Linked DNA regions of Homo sapiens: regions 1, 2 and 3 are each linked to region 4. The links are contacts of gene promoters, found by promoter capture Hi-C in blood cells and fetal thymus (Javierre and others, 2016). All regions are on one chromosome and are shown on one strand. Each heading gives the region's core, a stretch centred on a gene start or on the middle of the fragment in contact. The rest is flanking DNA. Distances are from core to core; before and after follow the strand shown.

Region 1 (4,261 bases), core at 482-2,981, 170 kb after region 4:
TCCTGGGTGGAGATTTAAGATGCTAATAAGACATGTGCCAAATGAACAAGAATGTACAGCTACTACTCATGTGCACCCAGAGGACCACCCAAAACATGCTTACTAGTAACAGCTCTTCCCACCTCCTTATGAATAATCATGTAAAACTCCTATAAAGGGAGTTTCTCCAGCAATAATCAACACTGCCTCATTCGTTTTTGTTTTTGTTTCTGTTTTTTAAGACGGAGTCTCGCTCTGTCGCCCAGGCTGGAGTGCAGTGGCATGATCTCGGCTCACTGCAAGCTCCGCCTCCCGGGTTCACGCCATTCTCCTGCCTCAGCCTCCCAAGTAGCTGGGACTACAGGCGCCCGCCACCACGCCCGGCTAATTTTTTTTTTTTTTTTTTTAGTAGCGATGCGGTTTCACCATGTTATCCAGGATGGTCTTGATCTCCTGACCTCATGATCTGCCTGCCTCGGCCTCCCAAAGTGCTGGATTACAGGCGTGAGCCACCGCGCCCGGCCAACACTGCCTCACTCTTATGAGCAGCCCACCCTGAATTCTCTCTCTCCCGAGGTGTACTGTCTACTCTGCACTTAACTTTCAAAATATTCTTTTTCCTTTGCAATAAACTCCTCAATGCTGCACCGTGTCTCTTGTTTAAATTCTTTTAAACTAAGAAGACAGGAACCAAAGTCTCAAAAGAGCCATCAACACCTGGTTCACTGGGACTCAGGGCTATTCACTCACCAGAGAGCTAAAGGACCCCCACCAAGTATTTCCAGCTTTTGAGTCCAGATCAGCAGGCCAGTGTTCTCTCCCTCCTTGACTTTAACACTTATTTAGATGGGGGCTCCAAGAGAGGGTCAGACCCTCCTAGAACAAAGCTTCTGGCTTCTGCCCAGACATGCTGCCTTTCCCAAAATTGCTGCAGAAAGTCCCACATCACAGGGTTCCAGCAACATCTTACCTTCATCCCAAAGGACTGCATCCGGGTAGCTACCTCTCTCCCAATCCTGCCCAGGCCAAGAATTCCCAGGGTCTTTCCATTCAGCTCTGTTCCCATGAACTGCAACCAAACAGGCAAAAGGAAAGAAGCTGAAGTCAGCAACATGAGTGGACCCCGGGCCCTGAGCCCAGGTGGGGCGAGTCAAGGCCGCTGCTCACCTTCTTCCGCTCCCATTTGCCGTCCTTCATCGAAGCCGTCGCCTGGGGAATCTGCCTGCAAGGATAGACACAGGTTCAGAGGGTCCATTCGGACTCCCGCCAGCCCAGGAAGGAGATGCAACATCAGGTTTGCACAGTCACTGCCCATGACAGCCACTTCCCCAAGAACTGGGTCTGGGGGTTCAGGTTTAGGAACACTGATGGGGGATAAAGGGAAAACAGAAGAGAGAAACCCTTGGCAAGATCTGACTTAGAAAGCCTGGGATTTCTGTGACCAGCCAGGCATCTGGGAGGAGGTATGGATTCCACCTCAGCCACTGAGGCATCAACCAGAGTGAGTTTTTTACTTTAAGCGATCGCCAATCCTCCAGGGTCTGTAGGGATAACTGAGTGGGGTACTGGGCAACTCTGATGACATCGAGTACTCCAGAAGCTCAAGGAATTATTTTGATCTACCTATCTCATCCAGCACCATAACCTATGACGTCTTCTACTATTATGAAGAGGACACCTAATTACCTATGCTTCCTTGAGAGTTTCTTAACCCCGAGGGTCTTAGACTAGTCTGGACCCTAGAGTGGGTGGGTGGATGCCAAAGCCCAGACACTTCCATTCTGTCCTGAATGCGTGGTCCCAACATTTTTAAACATCCGCACCACCTTCCTGTCCCACCACCACCAACACACACACACACACACACACACACACACACACACACACACACACTCTTCACAGCCTGTCTCCTCCTATTAGTCCAGATGGAAGTCTGAGTCTACATCTGTGTTTTCTGGAGGAGACAGAGGAAGTGGCAATTAGGGCAACATTAGAGGTCAAAGGGCGATATATGTCCTGTGGGCATGGGTCATCAACACATCTCTGGAGGCAAAAAAGGAAGATTTGAGAAACAATGTTTAAGGAGCACTTTATTTTAGACATCCTAAAAGAAATGTTTAGACACACATTAACTCCTCTAACATTCACAGCTGCACGGAGGGAGGCACTGGAGGTTAAACAGTTCTCCCCAGATCACCCAACTGGAGGCACTTGAACAGATTCAAAGCCAGCAAAGTCAACCCCAGCACGGCCAGCCTCCTGAGTACTTAAATGTAGGCCTTTAACCTGATGCCAAAAACCTCAGAGTGAGCGAGCGTGCAAAAAGAGAAATCTCAAGCTGCTACTTCCGTGCTTTCACTTCACTAACTTCTAACACAAAAACATTCTCTCATCTCTACACATCACTAGGACATTGATCTCCATCTGAGGGTAAGGCTGAAGGTGGAATCTGTCCTCCATCACAGAGGCGCACGATCTTATGGGTAAACTCAGAAGAACTTCAGTACCAAGCCACATGGGGGACAAGCTGCATTCACCTCACTGCTCTGACCCATCAGGCAGGTAATAAGGACAGGGACTTGCCTTGAGGAACTGTTCACTTCTTGGGAAAGCTTGCCTGATAAAATGCCTTTGACCTAGTGAGACAGAGCCCCACCTGGCCCCTCTCTCCTCTCCCTCACATCCTATTTTCTTCCCACCAGACTCCACAGTGCTATCTAAGATGTATGCGTGCGGCACCACAGAACACAAGAAATCCCTAACCCTTTTCTCTGGCTGCTGCTCCCAGCTGATCATGGAGCCTCTCCAGGTTTCAATGCTTTGGAATCCTCATCAGGCCAGACTGGAGAGGACTCTAATGTGGGCGAGGGTCCTCACAATAATTAAATGGTTGCTGGCCTGACTTACTAGAGGAGGAGATGGTAAAGCAGGCAAAAATGGTGAAACCTACATTTGTTGATTCTCTCCTTCCTTCCTTTCTGTGTGCTGTTCTTCTGCACCTCAGGAGCCCCCGCCATCTGCTCAAAGTCCCTACTGTGAGGCCCAGCCACGCCTGCTCTCCACCCACATTGCCCAATCCTGTAGAGTCTACATATAGGCACCCACACTCTCCTACCGTCCTCCCTGCTAGGAACAGTCTGATGAAACGAACGCATTCCTTCCCAATAGGGTGTGCGTGTTTCCTAGTTTTGATGCACCTTTGATGAGTGAGGTCATGGTGAGCAGTTGACAATGGGGAGCTTCTTTTAAACCACAGCATTTCACCGATTCCTTTAAACAAAGCTGGTCCTGGAAAAGGAGGGAAAGTATTGCTGGCTCCCAATCCTTTCCTTCCACCTCCAGAAAAAAAGTGAGGTAATTAATCAGAAAGCCACATTGAGATCTTTTCCCTTACTCAAAAAAAAAAAAAAAAATCCCTGAAGGTAATAGCTGAAGTGAAACCAGGGTGCCAGGCTTCTGTACTTCTCCAGGGGGAGAGACACTCAGCCTAGATGTTCTGGGAGAACCCGGCTGCCAGCCTGGGGGCCCCTTCTAGGCTGAGACCCTACTGCTGTGTAAGCTATCCCTGTTTCTCCTTTCCCCCCACTGCCTCCTTTCACCTACCAGTGAATATCAGTGAATACCAGAGAGCTCAGATGGAAACTGCAGGGAGGAGTTAGAGCAGAGGTAAATTCCCCCAGATCCTCCTCCAGCAGGAGGGAAAGCAGGTCTCGCCATGGGAAAAGTAATTTCTTGGTCCCGGAAGGTTTCAGGCCTGAGTAGAGAAACAAGGAGTCCTTGATGCCTAGGTCCGCTGGTTTAGGGAATCCATGGAGCTTCAAAGGGACCTAGAACAACTTCCTACCCTGTTTATTGGGAGCCTTGTTCTTCCCCTTGACCACATAAATGCTTGAATTGCCTGTTCAACAGAAGTGCTCCATGCAATCAGTTTTGCCAAATTACTAACCAACACACTGAGACTCAAGCACATTCTGTGCCACAACCATTTGATTTCTAGGCTGCCCCATCCACTCAAGAGGCCTGGAACTCCTGCTAGAAGAGCAAGAGTCTTGCCCATTTGAGTTCCATTGTGTTATGAACCCACAGAACACACAAGGACCCTGAAGCAGGTTCTTACTCCATTCTATTACAATACAGATTTGTAAGGGCAGTGACAGAGATAAGCCCTGAGGGCCAGGGGAATCAGTGAGGGACATAGCCTAGCTGGAAAAGCCAGAGAGCTTCTTGGATAAATTAATACTGAAGCTTAATCTTGAAAAGTAAGCAGAGGGTACCTAGACAC
Region 2 (3,988 bases), core at 1,273-3,772, 130 kb after region 4:
CTGTAGATTTTGCTCACATTCCTTTTTGTGGGCCTGACCACATTCTGCCTTGAAGTTGGGTTATATGTGTGCTTATCATTCCTCACACTGGTCAAGGAGGTCTCAAGAACCTCACCCTCTTCTTTTCTTTGTCCAACCCCTTTGTTCAACCCTCACAAACCCTTCCCAGCACAGTGCCTGAAGTGTAGTAATTAATTTTGAAACACAAGGGAAGGAGGCAAGATGGAATACAGAAGTAAAGGTGTGGTGCATGTTCTTGAAGTGGGCAACACCAGGAGAAAAATGATTTAAAATTACACAAAGTGATCATTCTTTAGAGAAAGCACAAGATGAGAAGGATACTCTTAACTTCGGTGGGCTGAAGCTTCTGGAAGCCTCTCCGTGTTAATTTTCTTCAAGGCTTTATAATCCATTTCTAGAAATAGCTCCCCACCAAGACAGCTACAAAAGTTACCAACTGACCCATTCTAAGCTTCTTCTTGCAAGCTTTGATTTCTAACTGGGAAGAAAGGGAGGGAGCCAGCCCAGAGAAGTCAGAGCGAGAATGAGGCTGAGAGAAAGGCAGCCAAGCTGGCAGGACAAGCGCTGGCTTAACCATTAGCTCCCGGGTACTGGGGAAGCTCCTCCGTAAATATTTGAGAGTACAAACTCCAGTTATTTGGAGGGAGTCAAATAAATAGGGAAGATAAATAAACTCCAAACCTCTCCTGTCAGATATAATGTGTATTTATCATTCTGCCTCACTATCTTGTGATCATATGATCCACTTTTGCCTCACAGCTGTCCTTAGAAGTGACCTTGCTGCTGGGAGAGGCTCTAGAATTCTACCAGAGGCTCAGAATCCCAAAGATGATTGATAGACACATTCAATCTGAGTTCCAGCTCCCGTAGAATGGAGCTAAATTTATAAGCCTGGCACCCAGGGCAGTGAAGGGACAGAGTATTTCTAACACGTGAGAAACTATGAAGTTACCCTGAGTGCATCACTTTACCAGTGTGTGCCTTGGTTTCACTAACTATAAAATGAAGAATGTTGCTAAAGTGAACAGAAGGTATAAAGTACTTTTGTATGGGAGCAGTACAGAGATCACCAAGTTCACCTCCAGTATGCTCCCATACAAAAGGGAACACAGATTTTCGCCAGGGATATTAAGAATCTGGGTTAAAGAGAAGTGAATTGGTCCAGAAAAGAAATAGATCATCTCTCCCTTCTTCTGCTGACTCCTTCCCCTTCCTTTTTTCCTCTGCTCTCGTTTAGAATTGCTCTTTCTGCTGTCTGTGTTCCCTGCATATTTAGCTGTAAAATGTCTGCTTCTTTCACTGGGCTGTGCTCTCTTTATGGGCACAATGCATGTCTTATTCACTGCTGTGTATTTGGACTAGAACTGTGTTGGGTGTGCTCAATAAACATTGGAAGGCCCTATCAGAAAAATCAGCTAGCAGAAAACTTACTTAAAAGTAGGAAAACAGTGGGTATGTTCTTGTGTAGAAAAAAGAAAGGAGAAAGACATGTAATTAGAGGTACACTTTTAAAATGAGTAAAGATTGTATAATTATGCCCTATAAGGGCTTATAACATGTAGAAGTAAAGTATATGACAATAATGGTTCAAAAGGATGCAGAGAGTAAATAAAGTCAACCTAAAGTTTTTGCAGTGTTCCAAAAGTAAGATAAGTATTAATTTAAGTAAGATTACAACAAGCCAATTATGCATGTTATAATCTTTAAGGTCACCAGTAAAAGGAAAAGAGGGTATAAAATGAATAATAAATATTTGCTTACTCTAAAAGGATATGGGAAAGGAGGAATAAAAGAACAAAGAACAAATGAGACAAATAGAAACAAATAAAAAAATAGACTTAGTTCCGGCTGGGCGTGGTGGCTCACGCCTGTAATCCCAGCACTTTGGAAGACCGAGATCAGGAGATCGAGACCATCCTGGCTAACACGGTGAAACCCTGTCTCTACTAAAAATACAAAAAATTAGCTGGGCGTGGTGGCAGGTGCCTGTAGTCCCAGCTACTCAGGAGGCTGAGGCAGGAGAATGGTGTGAACCCAGGAGGCGGAGCTTGCAGTGAGCAGAGATCACGCCACTGCACTCCAGCTTGGGTGACAGAGTGAGACTCCGGGTGACAGAGTGAGACTCCGTCTCAAAAAAGAGAAAAAAAAAGATTTAGTTCCAACTATATTAGTAATTACAACAAATATAAATGGATGAAATACTCAAATTAAAACACCACTATTGTTAGACTTATTAAAATTTTTTTAAAGGACTAAAATATATATACCGATCACAAGAGATGTATGTTAAAGATAAAGACGTTAAGAAGTTGAAAGTAAAAAGGGACAGAAAAAGATGTACCATGGAAACAGTAAGCAAAAAGCTAGTGTAGCTATATCGACGTCAGGAAAGGAAACTTTATGCCAAGAATATCACAAAGATGAAAAGGGATATTTAATAAGTATAGAAGGGTCAATTCAATGAAAAGATAATAACAATACTAAATTTGTAGTCATCTGATAACATAGCTTCAAAATATAGAAAATTAATTAAATGATTGCTATGTTACTGTCTTTTGAGGAAATTGTCTACAGACCATTAGTGGGAGTTTGACTGTTATCTCCATCACAGGTTTTCTACAGCCTCTGCTGTCCCCCTGGCCAAAACAGATACTTGGCCAAAGGACGTGGGCATCCTGGCCCTGGAGGTCTACTTCCCAGCCCAATATGTGGACCAAACTGACCTGGAGAAGTATAACAATGTGGAAGCAGGAAAGTATACAGTGGGCTTGGGCCAGACCCGTATGGGCTTCTGCTCAGTCCAAGAGGACATCAACTCCCTGTGCCTGACGGTGGTGCAACGGCTGATGGAGCGCATACAGCTCCCATGGGACTCTGTGGGCAGGCTGGAAGTAGGCACTGAGACCATCATTGACAAGTCCAAAGCTGTCAAAACAGTGCTCATGGAACTCTTCCAGGATTCAGGCAATACTGATATTGAGGGCATAGATACCACCAATGCCTGCTACGGTGGTACTGCCTCCCTCTTCAATGCTGCCAACTGGATGGAGTCCAGTTCCTGGGATGGTATGTACGGCCACGAACCTTATGTAAGAAAGGTGCTGGAATTGGAGGCTGAATATTACCAGTTTTGCTTTTCAGTTCCCCAGGTGGCTTCATCTAGTGAAGGAAGGACAATATATTCACACAGCTGCTGCTATCATCCCACAATAACCACTTAGACTTATATAGCTTTACAGTTAGGTAGCATGTTCACATAGCCATTCATTTAATTCTTACAACAGCCTAGGAAGTGTGTATTATACCAGATTTATAGAAGAGAACATGGAAGATCTGATAGCTTACACATAGTGAGTGGCAGAGGCAAAAATGCCAAACCACATCTGACATATTTCCTATTTTACCGTACCTGTTTCTCTTAAACATGTCCTAAGTCTCTGAGAGATTGGTGATGTTGAAAGATGTATGCAAGTTTAGATGTTCGGGAAAAAAACACCTTCATAGAAACAGGCCCAGAAAACCACAAGATAGACTGTGAGTATTTCTACTCTTTCTCCCTTAGGTGGCTCCTTGCATATTGCTTTTTGCTTAACATATTAACATTACCTTGTATCTTACTTATATCTTCTCCCAGTGCTATATTTGAGGACTAACCCCTGTTGTTACAGCAAGAAATGATTCAAGGGAAACAGTACAGTATGAGAGCTTGAAGCCATAGCTCTATCAATAATCATTGATAAATTCCTGAACCTCTTTGAGCCTCAGGGTTATTTGCCTATCTGCCTTGCTTAACTTATAAGAGGACTGAATAAAATAATTCATAGAAATGTGAAATTTTCATAAAGATGTGAAAAAACAGTATGTTGGCAGTAGTTAAGACACTCTATATTTACTAAGTTTGAAACTAGGATTAAAAACCTTAGAAACCATGATAAGCATTAATTATAAAATTAATCAAAAAGCCTTA
Region 3 (4,064 bases), core at 623-3,122, 150 kb after region 4:
CCAGCCCACTTCCCTGTTCTAAAGACACCACATAGACAGAGAGCAGCAGACAGGGGCCAGCAGGAGCTGTAGTTCAGATCTTCTTGGTCATTCCTTGCCGCTGTTATTTGAACAAATAAACACAGCGCAAAGGTTAACAAGTTTTTGCCTTCTATAGCCAAAAATAAAAAAATAAATAAATTTTGATGCCTGGCAGGAAATTATTCCATTACAGGATCTTTCCCCCTTGGGGGAGGGCACTGCTTCTTCTAGGGTCCTCTTATAAAATAGCAATGGTTCAGGCAGATGGGGATTGAGCTGAGGACGGGAGTGGGAGGAGAGGGAAAGTATCAGGGTGTTGTCATCACTTCCTTTTAGAAAGTTTCCTCAGTCACCCCCATGAGGAAAGGGCACCTTGGAAAAGAGAGAGGATGCTTTCCATTGGCGGGGAGCAGAGCTGGTGGGGGCAGGGGAGGAGGAGGGGAGGAGGAGGAGGAGGAGAAGCAGGGGAGGCTTAAGGCTCCCTTAAGCCTCAGGGAGCGCTTAAGAATGGCCCCACAGGAATGAGAAGCTGGGTCTGTTCCCTTCACTGTTTTGCTCAAGGCTGTTCATGTCACAACAAATCCCAGATAAGCCCCAATTTGCTCAGAGAATCCAGCATTAGCTGACTGCCTTCCCAGGCCTCTCTCAAGGTGCCTGCAAAACTCTACTCATCACACCAGCTGCAGCCGCTGCTTAGCAGCCCCTCTTTGCTACCCTCTTGCTGCCTGCACCTCCTCAGCAAGATGTTTAGGGGCCCTCAACCTGGTTGGCATCCCTAGCAGAACAACATGTGCCTTTCGGTATCTGTGTGCAGGGGAGAAAACCCAGCACTAACCTTAGCTCTGGAGACAAGAGGCCTCGGGCCTGGCCTTCTATCCACACAGAAGCTCACTGTGCAGTGTTGGTGCTGAAACTCTCTCCATCAGCCTCAGTCAGCCTCAGCAACCAGAACTTCCCATACTTCCTGCATCAGAGGCCAGGCCTGTCTCCACTAGGGAGGCATTTGAGCACAAATGGAATGATATTAAACATTCGACAACCAGGTTGTCAAGGGCTGACCAATTGAATGGACACTGCCCACAGCCCACACACCAGCTGGGCATCAGCACTGGCTCCCTCCAACTTCCTTATTCACCAACTTTTATACTGAGCCCGAGGCCTTCCTCTGGCAGCTCTGGGACACTGATGCCTGCCTGCTCTGAACAAAGCCCTCTCCCCCATGTAAGGTCAGCACACGAGGGAATGAGTTGCCAATGGCTCAGTCAACATTTTCACCCTAAAGTCTACAGATACCATACAAATAAAGACTTTCCCTGTGGGCAAAAATTCACACAGGGTGACCTAGGGCAGGAGAGAGGACGGCAGATTGGGCAAGTGTTGGGCTATGATACACTCATTCAAACGGGAATACTCAACATGTGATGTTAAAACTGATGCAAAAGATGGCCCCGCCACTGACCATGAGACAAGCCCAAGCTCTAGGGGGACACACTGATCACAACTTCAGGAGTCAGCACATTGAGGCAGATTCTGTGCGTGGCCCAGCTTTTGCCCTGCCTCCACCCTGAGCTCACAGCCAGCCTTCTGCTGTGTGTGCACAAGAATGAACTTCTACTCTAAAGGGGCAGTGAAGAGATGCCACATGCCACAAAGAACATGAGGGAGTCCATGGCACCCTCCCTGTAGCCCTAGCTGGATTTTTCAAAAATTTCATTGTATATATTTGAGGGATAGAACATGACGTTGTAAGATATATATATGTAGTAAAATGGTTACTGTAACGGAACAAATTAACATATTCATTATTTTACAAAGTTACCCATCCCCCGCCACCATGGCAAGAGCAGCTGCAATCTACTAATTTAGGAAAAATCCTCAGTACAATACACTGTTATTAACTATAGTCCTCAGGTTGTACATCAGATCTTTTGACTTACTCACCCTATGTATTTTCTACTTTACATTCTTTGACCTGTATCTCCCTAGACACCCCCCTCAACTACTTTTCTAGTTCCTATGTCAATATATTTGACCTCTTTTTTGGGGGGGGATTCCACATATAAATGAGTAAGTGCAATAATTTTCTTTTTGTGTCTGGCCTATTTACTTAGTCATCAGGGAAATGCAAATCAAAACCACGGTGAGATACCACCTCACACCTGTTAAGATGGCTATTACCAAAAAGACAAGAGATAGCAAGTGTTGGTAAAGATGTGGAGAAAAGGAGAAACTTTCTAGACTGTTGATGGGAATGTAAATTGATGCAGCTATTATGAAAAATATTACAGAGTTTCCTAAAGAAACCAGCTGAATTTTACAACGAATCCTGCCCTTTAAGTTTGGGAGAGGTCATGTGGACAGCCATGGGAGACGTGATACGATAAGATCGTCCCATGCCCTCTTTCATGACCCAGTCTAGGAAGATATTTTGAGATGCTCAAGTAATCTGCGTTTCTAGTACTGTTCCGAAGACCTTAGTGCACAGAACATGATTTGTTTAGGGGCTTATGAGGAAGGAGGCTGAGAGGCTAAACATTGAGCTCAATTTTTAACTGAATTTTTAACTTCATAAATTTCAGCCTGTTTTTCTATCCATCAGTGCACTCAAGTGACCTCAGTGGATGCCATGTGAGGCACAGGTATATTTCCAGTTGGAGAGAATGGGTTGTCTGATGTCAGGACACCCAGTGTCTAGATCTGGCTGAACATAATTGCAATGAGGTCATGTTGAGAACTATTTGGTTCATGGGGTTGGTTCTATGTAAAGAATTGAGACCTGCCTGTCTGCTCTCAGACTAACATAGGATGAAGAAACCAACATTCACCAAGTGCTCCTGGCACTTCCCGTAAGTCACTGTTTAATCCAGTAAATTCTCATTGCAGTTCTGTGAGAGGCACCATTAGCCCTCCCACAGATGAGGAAACAAAGGTCTAGGATAATTAAACACTGAGTTCCCAGTCAGACAGCTGTCCAGAGTTGACCATGACATTCACAACCAGGCCCATTCCCTTCAAGGTGAGCTACAGCAAGGCCAACCCCTCTGAGTTCACTGCAGACACTAACACAGCCCTTACTGCTGGAGTTCTTATTGATGCTTAGCTCCATCACAAAACTAAGGAGGCCAGAGTGCTGGACTCGCCCCTGCCAGTGCCAAGCAGCTGCCCTGTGTCAAGCCTTCTTAGCCAGGCCAGGAATCTCAGAAACAGACACTACTGGGCACACAGTAAGAATGGATCATCCCTTATTAATGGGGAAAAAAATTCCCTGAAGTGAATCTTTTGGGTAGAGTGCCGTTCAGCTGTATTTTGCATGAAAATCATCTTTCAAAAAAAAGTGACATGTTCACCAACCCACACTGACCTTGCTTTGTGAACTTGCCAAATAGTCTCATACCCCCATAATTTTACACTTTCTTTCCCTTATGAAATCCTTCTAAACATCTCCTGAGACACCAATATCCTCAGCTCAAATTACTTCCTCCTTTGGACTCTAGAGAATTTCCTATACACCTCTGTTGTAGCATCACTCACTGCTTCCAGTCACCTCTGCATGCTCTGTCCCTCCCACCAGACTTCTATGGAAAAAGGGTCAGGTTTGAATTCTCCTCTTAAAGTAAAGCACCTAGCCCAGTGCCTGGTACATAATGCTGGGCTTGTGTGTTGAATCTTACTTATTAACGTGCATGTATATTCCCAGATGGAAGGGGTCTGAAATACCGTAGCACTGTGAAATACATTGAGCTTTGCTCCTGTAAAAGTGCCTCTGAGTAACCTTCGGCAGACAAGAGAGGGATCACCTTCAAAGAACTCAACCAAGCCATTTGCTCATCCCCATCTTCCCCCACACCCGCTCCGCTCCCGCAGTCTAAACCAAACCCTACGTCTGCCTTTGGACGCCCTCTGGTGGCGCTTTAGGATAATGACCACACAAAAGTGCAGAAGGAGTTGGGGGTAGGCTCTTTATTAGACGGTTATTGCTGTACTACAGGGTCAGAGTGCAGTGTAAGCAGTGTCAGAGGCCCGCGTTCAGCCCAAGAATGTGG
Region 4 (4,045 bases), core at 470-2,969:
TCTTTTTATATCAATATCCACTACTTCACAGGTCATTGCAAGCTTCTTTCCTTCAGCCTGACCTTAAATCCTACTATTCCTGAGCGATCCAACCTGGTCTTTCTCTGCTCATTCCTCACCATCCCATGAGGCATCATCATCAGCTTTTATGGCTTCAATCAGCACCACTGTGCAGAGGACTCCAGTTCAGCTCCAACTCAGGCATCTCAGCCCAGAGGATGCTGCCTACTCGTCTGCAGTTGAGAAATCCCTTCTTCAATGCTCCTTTACTGGCACCTGGAAATCTACATTTTGCAAGCAGAGCTTTTCATATTTATTTCCTTTATCTAAATCTATTTGTTCTGATGTTTTTCTTCTTTGAGTGGTTAGAACCATGACACACACATACACCTAAGCCAGAAACATCAACATTCTTTTTCATTTTTGCCTCTTTCATTCTGGGAGAATCCATGCAAGCATTAAGTCCAGCAGAGTCTAAGTGGTTTTAAATCTCTTGGAGCTGTCAACTTTTGTCCTTCCCTAAAGAGACAACAGAGTTGACTAGTAAAGAACACAGGCTCCGGGTAGAGTTGCCTAAATGTTCACAGGGATTGCTTCAGCTGACGCCACCTTCTGAACCATGGTACGGTTTTCATGTCCTCATGTGCAAAGTATGGGTGATAATAGTAGTACCTATAACCTAGGGTCATGGTGAAGATTTAATGGGCTGATTTATGCAGAGCATAGCGGGGTGTGTAGCATGAAACGAGCCAGTCTTCCATAAGTACTGCTTATTATCAGCCCTAAGGCCATGCTTTCTGCCAACAGACAACATTGCTTGGTACAAGAGCTTTTAACTAGTCTCCCTGACTCAAGCCTGTTCCTTTTTAACCTTTCCTTGTAATTCAGCCAGATGGAATCTCCCAGGAACAAAACTGAAAATATTCCTCTCTTATCAGAATCCCTCAGAATCACCTCATGACCTTCCGATTTGCCCTTTTACGGACGATAAACCCTTCCATTTTCTGAGCCAGAGGCTTCTTCCTTTGTGGAGTCAGCCTCATCGCTCGACTAGGAACATAACCAGCTATCTACCTTTCTCAGAAAGCACTTGGGTTTGCTCTTATAACAGGCACTTTTTCTAGGTTCTTCCCACCATTGCACATGGACACACAAAAATTACACTGACCCCTGGCACCCCAAAGACAAACAGCAGAAAGCACTCCCAGGCAAAATGAGCTCAGGACCTTTCTGTTGCCTGGGCCCACAACTAAGGTTCAGGGCCTTCTCTAAAAAGAAGCCGCAGCCGAAGACAGAGGAACTGCCCAGAGTGGGGCTGGGGGTGTGGAGTCTACGCTGATACTTTCAGGCTGTTTCCACTCTTGCTGGTTCTGATGCTCCTTTCTTTTGCCACAAGCAACCCTAGTGGAAAACTGGGAAATGTCCAACAATGAAGTTAGGACAGTGGCCCATAAAACATCGGATTCCAACCTGTGTCCTAAGGTGTAAAGACACAGAGTAAAGGCAAAGATACAGTGAGCCTTTAACACGTTCTCCTTTGTTCTTCCTATTTCTCTATTCCTTCTCCATTTCCGATGGTGTTCTCTACCCTCTCTCCAACCCACGTGCCAACAGCCCCTCTTTTCTCTTTTATTCTCGCCCACGTTTCCCTCCTTTCTTCCACCTGCGCCCAACGGTACGGCCCGGAAAACGAACTGGATGCGTTGGACAGGTCACGCGCGCATTGCGGACGCCAGCTAGACCGAGCCCTGGGAGGCTACGGGCTCCCCCGGAAACCCTGCCAGGGGAGCCGGGTTTTGAGCTCAGGCGCCTCTAGCGGCGGCCCCCAGAAATCTGACTCGCGAGGCCAGAGTTGCAGGGACTGAATAGCAAACTGAGGCTGAGTAGGGAACAGACCATGAGGTCAGTGCAGATCTTCCTCTCCCAATGCCGTTTGCTCCTTCTACTAGTTCCGACAATGCTCCTTAAGTCTCTTGGCGAAGATGTAATTTTTCACCCTGAAGGGGAGTTTGACTCGTATGAAGTCACCATTCCTGAGAAGCTGAGCTTCCGGGGAGAGGTGCAGGGTGTGGTCAGTCCCGTGTCCTACCTACTGCAGTTAAAAGGCAAGAAGCACGTCCTCCATTTGTGGCCCAAGAGACTTCTGTTGCCCCGACATCTGCGCGTTTTCTCCTTCACAGAACATGGGGAACTGCTGGAGGATCATCCTTACATACCAAAGGACTGCAACTACATGGGCTCCGTGAAAGAGTCTCTGGACTCTAAAGCTACTATAAGCACATGCATGGGGGGTCTCCGAGGTGTATTTAACATTGATGCCAAACATTACCAAATTGAGCCCCTCAAGGCCTCTCCCAGTTTTGAACATGTCGTCTATCTCCTGAAGAAAGAGCAGTTTGGGAATCAGGTTTGTGGCTTAAGTGATGATGAAATAGAATGGCAGATGGCCCCTTATGAGAATAAGGCGAGGCTAAGGGACTTTCCTGGATCCTATAAACACCCAAAGTACTTGGAATTGATCCTACTCTTTGATCAAAGTAGGTATAGGTTTGTGAACAACAATCTTTCTCAAGTCATACATGATGCCATTCTTTTGACTGGGATTATGGACACCTACTTTCAAGATGTTCGTATGAGGATACACTTAAAGGCTCTTGAAGTATGGACAGATTTTAACAAAATACGCGTTGGATATCCAGAGTTAGCTGAAGTTTTAGGCAGATTTGTAATATATAAAAAAAGTGTATTAAATGCTCGCCTGTCATCAGATTGGGCACATTTATATCTTCAAAGAAAATATAATGATGCTCTTGCATGGTCGTTTGGAAAAGTGTGTTCTCTAGAATATGCTGGATCAGTGAGTACTTTACTAGATACAAATATCCTTGCCCCTGCTACCTGGTCTGCTCATGAGCTGGGTCATGCTGTAGGAATGTCACATGATGAACAATACTGCCAATGTAGGGGTAGGCTTAATTGCATCATGGGCTCAGGACGCACTGGGTTTAGCAATTGCAGTTATATCTCTTTTTTTAAACATATCTCTTCGGGAGCAACATGTCTAAATAATATCCCAGGACTAGGTTATGTGCTTAAGAGATGTGGAAACAAAATTGTGGAGGACAATGAGGAATGTGACTGTGGTTCCACAGAGGAGTGTCAGAAAGATCGGTGTTGCCAATCAAATTGTAAGTTGCAACCAGGTGCCAACTGTAGCATTGGACTTTGCTGTCATGATTGTCGGTTTCGTCCATCTGGATACGTGTGTAGGCAGGAAGGAAATGAATGTGACCTTGCAGAGTACTGCGACGGGAATTCAAGTTCCTGCCCAAATGACGTTTATAAGCAGGATGGAACCCCTTGCAAGTATGAAGGCCGTTGTTTCAGGAAGGGGTGCAGATCCAGATATATGCAGTGCCAAAGCATTTTTGGACCTGATGCCATGGAGGCTCCTAGTGAGTGCTATGATGCAGTTAACTTAATAGGTGATCAATTTGGTAACTGTGAGATTACAGGAATTCGAAATTTTAAAAAGTGTGAAAGTGCAAATTCAATATGTGGCAGGCTACAGTGTATAAATGTTGAAACCATCCCTGATTTGCCAGAGCATACGACTATAATTTCTACTCATTTACAGGCAGAAAATCTCATGTGCTGGGGCACAGGCTATCATCTATCCATGAAACCCATGGGAATACCTGACCTAGGTATGATAAATGATGGCACCTCCTGTGGAGAAGGCCGGGTATGTTTTAAAAAAAATTGCGTCAATAGCTCAGTCCTGCAGTTTGACTGTTTGCCTGAGAAATGCAATACCCGGGGTGTTTGCAACAACAGAAAAAACTGCCACTGCATGTATGGGTGGGCACCTCCATTCTGTGAGGAAGTGGGGTATGGAGGAAGCATTGACAGTGGGCCTCCAGGACTGCTCAGAGGGGCGATTCCCTCGTCAATTTGGGTTGTGTCCATCATAATGTTTCGCCTTATTTTATTAATCCTTTCAGTGGTTTTTGTGTTTTTCCGGCAAGTGATAGGAAACCACTTA

What was found. The method cuts DNA at HindIII sites, captures the fragments that hold promoters and counts their contacts. A CHiCAGO score of 5 or more calls a contact.
Region 1: a contact is called between a fragment that was not itself captured here and the fragment with the promoter of ADAM30 in region 4, in 3 of 17 cell types (M1 macrophages, M0 macrophages and M2 macrophages). The highest score is 8.6, in M1 macrophages.
Region 2: a fragment that was not itself captured here is called in contact with the fragment with the promoter of ADAM30 in region 4 in 5 of 17 cell types (M1 macrophages, M2 macrophages, M0 macrophages and 2 more); the score reaches 11.8 in M1 macrophages.
Region 3: a fragment that was not itself captured here is called in contact with the fragment with the promoter of ADAM30 in region 4 in 4 of 17 cell types (M0 macrophages, M1 macrophages, M2 macrophages and 1 more); the score reaches 11.0 in M0 macrophages.

The regions. Positions count from the first base shown.
Region 1 is chr1:119,723,791-119,728,051 of GRCh38, reverse strand. It overlaps PHGDH (phosphoglycerate dehydrogenase), which reads right to left. Exons shown (of 12, transcript NM_006623.4): 4 at 1,147-1,201; 5 at 950-1,048. Among named protein-coding and RNA genes, the nearest start is that of PHGDH, 14 kb to the right of the region's middle. The HindIII fragment of the contact is 1,725 bases long and covers 869-2,593 here.
Region 2 is chr1:119,763,271-119,767,258 of GRCh38, reverse strand. HMGCS2 (3-hydroxy-3-methylglutaryl-CoA synthase 2) reads left to right here. Exons shown (of 10, transcript NM_005518.4): 2 at 2,633-3,087. Among named protein-coding and RNA genes, the nearest start is that of HMGCS2, 3.6 kb to the left of the region's middle. The HindIII fragment of the contact is 4,067 bases long and covers 489-3,988 here.
Region 3 is chr1:119,744,118-119,748,181 of GRCh38, reverse strand. PHGDH (phosphoglycerate dehydrogenase) reads right to left here. Exons shown (of 12, transcript NM_006623.4): 12 at 3,967-4,064. HMGCS2 (3-hydroxy-3-methylglutaryl-CoA synthase 2) reads left to right here. Exons shown (of 10, transcript NM_005518.4): 10 at 1-180. Among named protein-coding and RNA genes, the nearest start is that of HMGCS2, 23 kb to the left of the region's middle. The HindIII fragment of the contact is 5,020 bases long and covers 1-4,064 here.
Region 4 is chr1:119,894,189-119,898,233 of GRCh38, reverse strand. ADAM30 (ADAM metallopeptidase domain 30) reads left to right here and starts at 1,719. Exons shown (of 1, transcript NM_021794.4): 1 at 1,719-4,045. The coding sequence starts at 1,898. The HindIII fragment of the contact is 9,342 bases long and covers 45-4,045 here.